Regions from separate parts of the Homo sapiens genome. Here region 2 is linked to region 1. Evidence: promoter capture Hi-C in human tissues and cell types (Jung and others, 2019). All regions are on one chromosome and are shown on one strand. The core of a region is centred on a gene start or on the middle of the fragment in contact, and the rest is flanking DNA. Distances in the headings are between cores, read along the strand shown.

The links. The method cuts DNA at HindIII sites, captures the fragments that hold promoters and counts their contacts. A contact is called where the count stands out against the background at its distance.
Region 2: a contact is called between a fragment that was not itself captured here and the fragment with the promoter of ANKRD10 in region 1, in 1 of the 25 tissues and cell types used here (lymphoblastoid cells).

What each region holds. Positions count from the first base shown.
Region 1 is chr13:110,913,257-110,916,726 of GRCh38, reverse strand. ANKRD10 (ankyrin repeat domain 10) reads left to right here and starts at 1,658. Exons shown (of 6, transcript NM_017664.4): 1 at 1,658-2,002. The coding sequence starts at 1,793. RefSeq lists silencers at 817-976, 1,107-1,766, 2,037-2,406 and enhancers at 344-1,018, 2,517-2,646, 2,370-3,046. The HindIII fragment of the contact is 23,501 bases long and covers 1-3,470 here.
Region 2 is chr13:112,571,262-112,574,731 of GRCh38, reverse strand. All of the region lies in intron 1 of TUBGCP3 (tubulin gamma complex component 3), which reads left to right. Among named protein-coding and RNA genes, the nearest start is that of TUBGCP3, 15 kb to the left of the region's middle. The HindIII fragment of the contact is 4,851 bases long and covers 1-3,470 here.

The DNA.
Region 1 (3,470 bases), core at 409-2,908:
GTCTATTCTCACCCTTTTGGTCCAAACAAAAAAGTATTGCTTGATTATTCTTTCCTGCTTCACTAACAGATTACAAACTCCCTGGGAGAAGATAGATTCTATGTGTCATATTTTCCATTCATTAGCAATTGCTCACTGAATTGAAATATTTGCTACTTCCCCACTATAGAGTGTTTCTCAATGTGTTTCATTCAGCATTGTACTCAACAAATGTTTGCTGTATGAAGACATGTCTGTGTTGAGTGTTTACACCACTAGTTAACAACTTCCCTTTGTTAAATCTTAGGTTTCTATTTTTTCGTTTTATTAACCAATGCTGCAATATGCTTTCTCGTGCATCAGTACTTCCCTAGACATCTAATTGCCTTGTTCAATTTGTGACGTAGAATTTTGCAAAAAGGAAGTTTACACAGCGAAAAACTATATATACAAATGAAATAAAATACATGATTTAAAAAGACCGCATATTTAGAAGCAAAGGAAATATTCATAAACATTGTGGTTATTCCTCAATAGTGAAATTACTGATGCTTTCATAATCAGAATAAAATTACATATGTAATAAAGTCCGTGATACTGTCATTCAAAATAGGGGATTTGGTACTCCCTTACATTTATACAGTTCTCAACAAAAAGCCTTTTATTGTTTGCTCTGTCTGGTCTTCTCGCTTATCTCTTAAACTTGCAAACGTATAGTCCTAGCCCACCGCACTCGGTTCCGAAGAAGGCGTCCCTCGGACAAAACCGAGGAATCTGTCCTGCTCTGTAAGGAACTAGGGCTTGCTGATTCCCAGATTTTAACGAGAATCCCTGCTCCCCGTAGGCGCTCCATAAATTTTTACTGGACAACTTCACCGCGCGCTACTGGGCCTCCGGGAGACCCGTGACTCCCACCCGCTCTGGGCGCGGGCCCGCAGAGCCTCAACCCGCGCCCCCGGCAGCCGGGATTCCCCGCCCGGACCGGCTCCCAGGCTGGAAACATCATGGTCCGCACCCGGGGCGCAGCCGAGACCCACCGCGCCGGAGGCCCCGGGACCCGCTCAGACCGCTGCTTGGCCACTCTACGCCCCTGAGCCCCCCACACAGCCAGCCCCGTGACCTCCGAGCCCCGTGACCTCCGAGCCCCGTGACCTCCAAGCCCCGGAAGCCGCTGTAGGCAGCGGCCCAGCCAGGCCCCGCCCCCTCCACCGGAGCTCCACGCGTCAATTCCAGCCAGGCCCCGCCCCCGGCCGCCCCAGGCGTGGACCCAAGCCAGGCCCCGCCCTCTGCCTGGCTACTCCAGGCGCCCACCGCCCCAGGCGTCCTCTAGCCCAAGCCCAATGCCCGGCTGCTCCAGACGTCGACAGCCCCATGCCCCGCCTCCTAATCGGCTGCTGCTGGCGTCCTCTGGTCCAGGCTCCGCTCCCTACCCGGCTGCTCCAGGCATCCTCTAGGCTAGACCCCGCCACCTACCGGCCGCTCCAGGCGTCCGCAGCTCCAAGCCCCGCCCTCCGCCCGGCTGCTCCAGGCGGCCTCCGGCTCAAGCCCCGCCCCCTGCCCGGCGGCTCCAGAGGTCCGCGGCTCCAGGCCCCGACCCCTGCCCGGCTGCACAAGGCGTCCTCTGGGCCAGGCCCCGCCCCCAGCCCGGCCGCTCCAGGCCCCGCCCCGCCCCCTCTGTGCGCGCTCCGCTCGGCAGCCTGTGGGACGCGACCGCGGCGCTAGTCTCGTTCCTTTGTGCTGCGGCGGCGGCTTCTCGAGTCCTCCCCGACGCGTCCTCTAGGCCAGCGAGCCCCGCGCTCTCCGGTGACGGACCATGTCGGCGGCGGGAGCGGGCGCGGGCGTAGAGGCGGGCTTCTCCAGCGAGGAGCTGCTCTCGCTCCGTTTCCCGCTGCACCGCGCCTGCCGCGACGGGGACCTGGCCACGCTCTGCTCGCTGCTGCAGCAGACACCCCACGCCCACCTGGCCTCTGAGGACTCCTTCTATGGCTGGACGCCCGTGCACTGGGCCGCGCATTTCGGCAAGGTGGGTGCGAACGCTTTAAGGCGCCATTTTCCCCGGCTGTCCAGTGGGAGTCGGGGAAAGCGGGTCTGAGGTGCGGGGGACGTGGGGCGTGCCGGGATCGCGGGGCGGAAGCGGGATCGACGGCGCCTGTGCCCCGAGGGGCCTAGGGCGCCTGTGCGGCAGCGCTCGCGGCCCGGAGTCGCGGCGGGGCAGCCGGGGGGCGCGGGGCGGAAGCGAGGTCGGTGGCGCCTGCGTCCGGAGGGGCCTAGGGCGCATGTGCGGCGGCGCGCGTAGCAAGTTTCTAACAAGGCGGGCTCCAAGGGTCCCGGCGCCTGTTGGCCGGATCCTGTGCGAGCGCGCGCGCGCGCGGATGGTGCGGGGCCCTCCAGGCCGGGCCGGAGGCGCGAGCGATTTCGCAGAGCCGGGTATTAGGCCGCGAAGTCGCCCAGGCGGCTTCCGGGGAGCCGAGCTGGGGTCAGAGGCGCGCGGGGAATGCCCGGGCGCGGTCGACCTTCTGGTTCCGCACAGCCTCGCCAGTAGCCGAGGGCCGCGCTGCGGACGAGCTCAGCCGAGGAGCAAGCGCCCCGGCGGGACTGGAAGGCCCCGGCAGCTGTGTGGGATGGAGGCCGGCTCTCCAGCTTCTGGGTTTGCTTTAAGGCTTGTAGCTGGCCCCGCTTCAGCAAAATTAGTGACGGCTGTGTTTATCTTGGATCTAAATTACTGCAGAAGTGGTTAAATTAAGCAGAATTCTCTTCCCGTGGAGGCTTTACGTTCCCCTCTTTTTTCTTAAACTGAAAATTCTGGGGGAACACAGTGCTGCTTTAAGGTTTTAAAAGGTTGGATAGCTACCGTTTCCTCATCTGTGAAGTCGTTGGGGTACTTGCTCTCAGAAATCTTAAATAAGATTTCACCGTGCATTTCAGAAGTGACTGGTTTTAATTAATATTTCTTAATTCACTGAAATTCAGGGATGTGTATAGTGTTTTTCTCGTAAGTGATGAGATGGGGTTAAATGGTTTTGCAGAAATATGTGAGAGGTAATGTGAAATAAGTTACTTTAAGAAGGCCTGGCCCTGGTAATGTCGTTACCAGCTGATGAAGTTGCGGTTTACCTTGCTGCCCCTGGTGCTACATTCACAAAGCAGCTGTGTCTTTTGGAAAGCAGTTTCTGATTCTTTTAAAGTGGAAAAGTCACTTTTCTTTCAATAAAAGAAATGAAAAGGAGTTTTGACGATCGGGGTGGGACAAGCAAGTTAATCAGTCCTCAAGGGCTGTTAGGTTCCTGTGGCACTGTCTCTGAAGTTGTGCAACCGTAGTACCTGCTGGAGAAAACAGGTGCCCAGGGGAAATGAGTTTCTTAACAAACAAAAGTAATAAAGCCTCCTCCCTGCGCTTCTGCGTGCAGCCTTAAATAGATTTCCCGAGGCAGTCAGTAATCTGAGGATTTCCTCCCTCCAGAGTGTCTCTTGCTGTGGTTTATTTTTACACT
Region 2 (3,470 bases), core at 303-2,802, 1.7 Mb before region 1:
CATTGTTCAGAGTCTGATTGGAGGTGTTTTATGTATTTTTGCCAGAGTTTTACATTGTCATCAGTAGTGGAGTGTGCTTACTCTGTCTTGACGGAGATGACTTCTGTCTCTAGTTTCTTCTTTCAAGTCAATCCTGTTTGTTTTCTTTACATCTTTCAGGGATTCTTCAGTTTCTGTTTCACCAAGAGTGCTCTTCTTAGATCCACTTTTCTGGTTTTGTTTATATCTTCCTTAAATCCTTTGTTACATTTCTGGGGATTTTGGATTGTCTATGGATTGGGCAGGGGAAGTCACACTGTGAGCTCAGAGTGCCCACTTGAAGATTCTCTGTGGATTGGGCAGGGGAAGCCACACTGAGCTCAGAGTGCCCACTTGAAGATTCTCTGTGGATTGGGCAGGGGGAAGCCACACTGAGCTCAGAGTGCTCACTTGAAGATTCTCTGTGGATTGGGCAGGGGAAGCCACACTGTGAGCGTGGAGTGCCCACTTGAAGATTCTTTGTGGATTGGGCAGGGGGAAGCCACACTGTGAGCTCAGAGTGCCCACTTGAAGATTCTCTGTGGATTGGGCAGGGGGAAGCCACACTGTGAGCTCAGAGTGCCCACTTGAAGATTCTCTGTGGATTGGGCAGGGGAAGCCACACTGAGCTCAGAGTGCCCACTTGAAGATTCTCTGTGGATTGGGCAGGGGAAGCCACACTGTGAGCTCAGAGTGCTCACTTAAAGATTCTCTGCGGATTGGGCAGAGGAAGCCATACTGAGCTCAGAGTGCCCACTTGAATTTCCAGGTGCCACTCATAGTTCCACTTCCTTCCTAGGATGGAGAACAGTGTTGGCTTTTGCTGGCAGATGCAGCTGGGCACTGCCCTGTTGGGCTGCTCCTCTGCATCCCGGGTTGAACTGGGCCCAGCACTCAGTGGTGGGGGTGGGGGGATCTGGAGGTATCTACTGGTAACTTGACTTCTAGAGTCATAGAAGTTGGGCAGACAGGCAGGCTATCCCACCCTGGCACCAGCTCCAATCCACTTATTGAAGTGATTGCTTTCGGAAGGTGGAGGCTTTCTGAAAGATTTCTTCCTGACCCTTGACGTTCTTTTGCTGCTGAGATTGTAGTGGGGAACATTCTTCTCCCAGATCCCTTGTACTGAGGGTGGGAGTTCCTCAGATTGGGAGTTTGCCTCTGCAGAGATGAGAGCCTGGATTTTTTCCTGGGGCTAAGGCAGTTGCTGTGAACCATGTAACTTCCAAGGCCCTTCCCTTCTCATCCTTTCTGTCTTGTATGACTTCTTTGGACATTTATTCCACTCCAGGTTTCTCCCTCCCCACTTCTGCCTGGGCTGATCTGGTGATTTCCTTGTCTTGGCTGTCGTAATTTCCATCTTTTTGCCTTTTTGTTTTAGTTTTTGAGAGACTTCTTCAACTTTAAATACAAGCTTTCTACTTATTTTAAAAAACATCTGCCTTCATACTTTTAATATTCAAGAGCTTGTCTTCTCTGAATTTATGGCATACTGTTTTGTTTCATGGATGTGTTATGTCTAATCTCGTAGGCCATTATAGCTTGTTTTTGTACATCTTGCCCCCATTTTCTTATTCCCTACGTTGTTACTTTTTCTTAGAGTTTCCTTTTTTCCTTCTTGTGTTTGTCTCCTTTTTGTTTTAGATGATGCCCTCAGGTATCTGGCGATACCTGTTCTTTTCATCTTTAAGAGTGGAGTTGTCGGAAGGTCTTGGCTAGGGCAGCATTTGCCCAGTGCTGAGCTTCCTTGTGGAGGACAGGCACACGTCATCTTATTGTCCTTTACAGATACTGCGTTATTTGACAATTGGAAGTTTTTGGCACCCTGCGTTGGGCAAGTCTTTAGGTACCATTTTTCCAACAGCATGTGCTCACTTTGTATCTCTGTGTCATATTTGGAAATTCTCACAGTATTTCAGACTTTTTCATGATTATTACATCTGTTACGTTGATGTGTAACTTGTGATCTTTGATGCTGCTGTTGTAATTGTTTTGGGGTGCCATGAAGTGCGCAAACTTAATCAAAAAGTGTTGTGTATGTTCTGACTACTCTGCCGACCAGCTGTTCCCTGTCTCACCCTCTCTCCTCAGGCCTCCCTATTTCCTGAGTCACAACAATATTGAAATTAGGCCAGTTAATAGCCTTACAGTGACCTCTTACTGTTTAAGTGAAATTAGTGATCAACAGAAAACCAAACATGACCTTCTCACTCATAAGTGGGAGTTGAACAGTGAGAACACATGGACACAGAGAGGGGAACAACACACACCAGAGCCTGTTGGAGGGTGGGGGGTGAGGGGCGGGAACTTAGAGGACGGGTCATTAGGTGCCGCAAACCAGCACAGCACACGTATACCTATGTAACAAACCTGCCACACGTGTACCTGTGTAACAAACCTGCACGTTCTGCACATGTATCCCGCTTTTTGTTTTTTAGAAGAAATAATAATAAAAGAAATTAGTGTTCAAGTGAAATGAAGAGTCACATGCCTCTCACTTTAAATCAAAAGCTAGAAATGGTTAAGCTTGGTGAGGAAGGCATGCCAAAAGCTGAGATACGCGAGAAGCTAGGCCTCTTATGCCAGTTAGTCAAGTTGTGATTGAATAGGAAAAGTTCTTGAAGGAAATTACAAATGCTATTCCAGTGAACACAAGAGTAATAAATTGAAACAGCCTTATTGCTAATATGGAGAAAGTTTGAGTGGTCTGGATAGAAGATCAAACCAGCCACAGCATTCCTTTAAGCCAAAACCTAATCTTGAGCAAGACCTTAATTCTGTGAAGGCTGAGAGAGGTGAGGAAGCTGCAGAAGAAAAGTTAGAAGCTAGCAGGGGTTTTTAGTTCATGAGACTGAAGGAAAGAAGCTGTCTCCATAACATAAAAATGCAAGGTGAAGCAGCACCTGCTAATGGAGAAGCTGCAGCAAGTCATCCAGAACTAGCTGAGATCATTGGGGAAGGTGGCTACACTAACAACAGATTTTCAGTGTAAGTGAAACACCCTTCTATTGGAATAAGATGCCATCTTATTGGCGTCTAATAAGATGCCAACTTTCATTCCTAGAGAGGAGAAGTTAGTGCCTTCCTTCAGAGCTACAAAGAATAAGCCGACTCTTGTCTGGGGCTAATGCAGCAGGTGACTGAAGTTGTTGAAGCCAGTGCTCGTTGACCATTCCAAAAATCCTGGGGCCCTTAGGAGTTATGCTAAATCTACTCTTCCTGTGCTCTAGAAATGAAACGACAAAGCCTAGATGACAGCACATCTTTTTATAGCATGGTTTACTGAATATTTTAAGCCTCCTATTAAGGTCTGCTGCTCAGAAAAAGATTCCTTACTGCTCGTTGAGAATGCACCTGGAGTTGTTTTCATGCCTGCTAACATGCATCTGTTCTGCAGAACATGGACCAAAGAGTAATTTCAACTTTCAAATCTTATCACTTGAGAAACACAT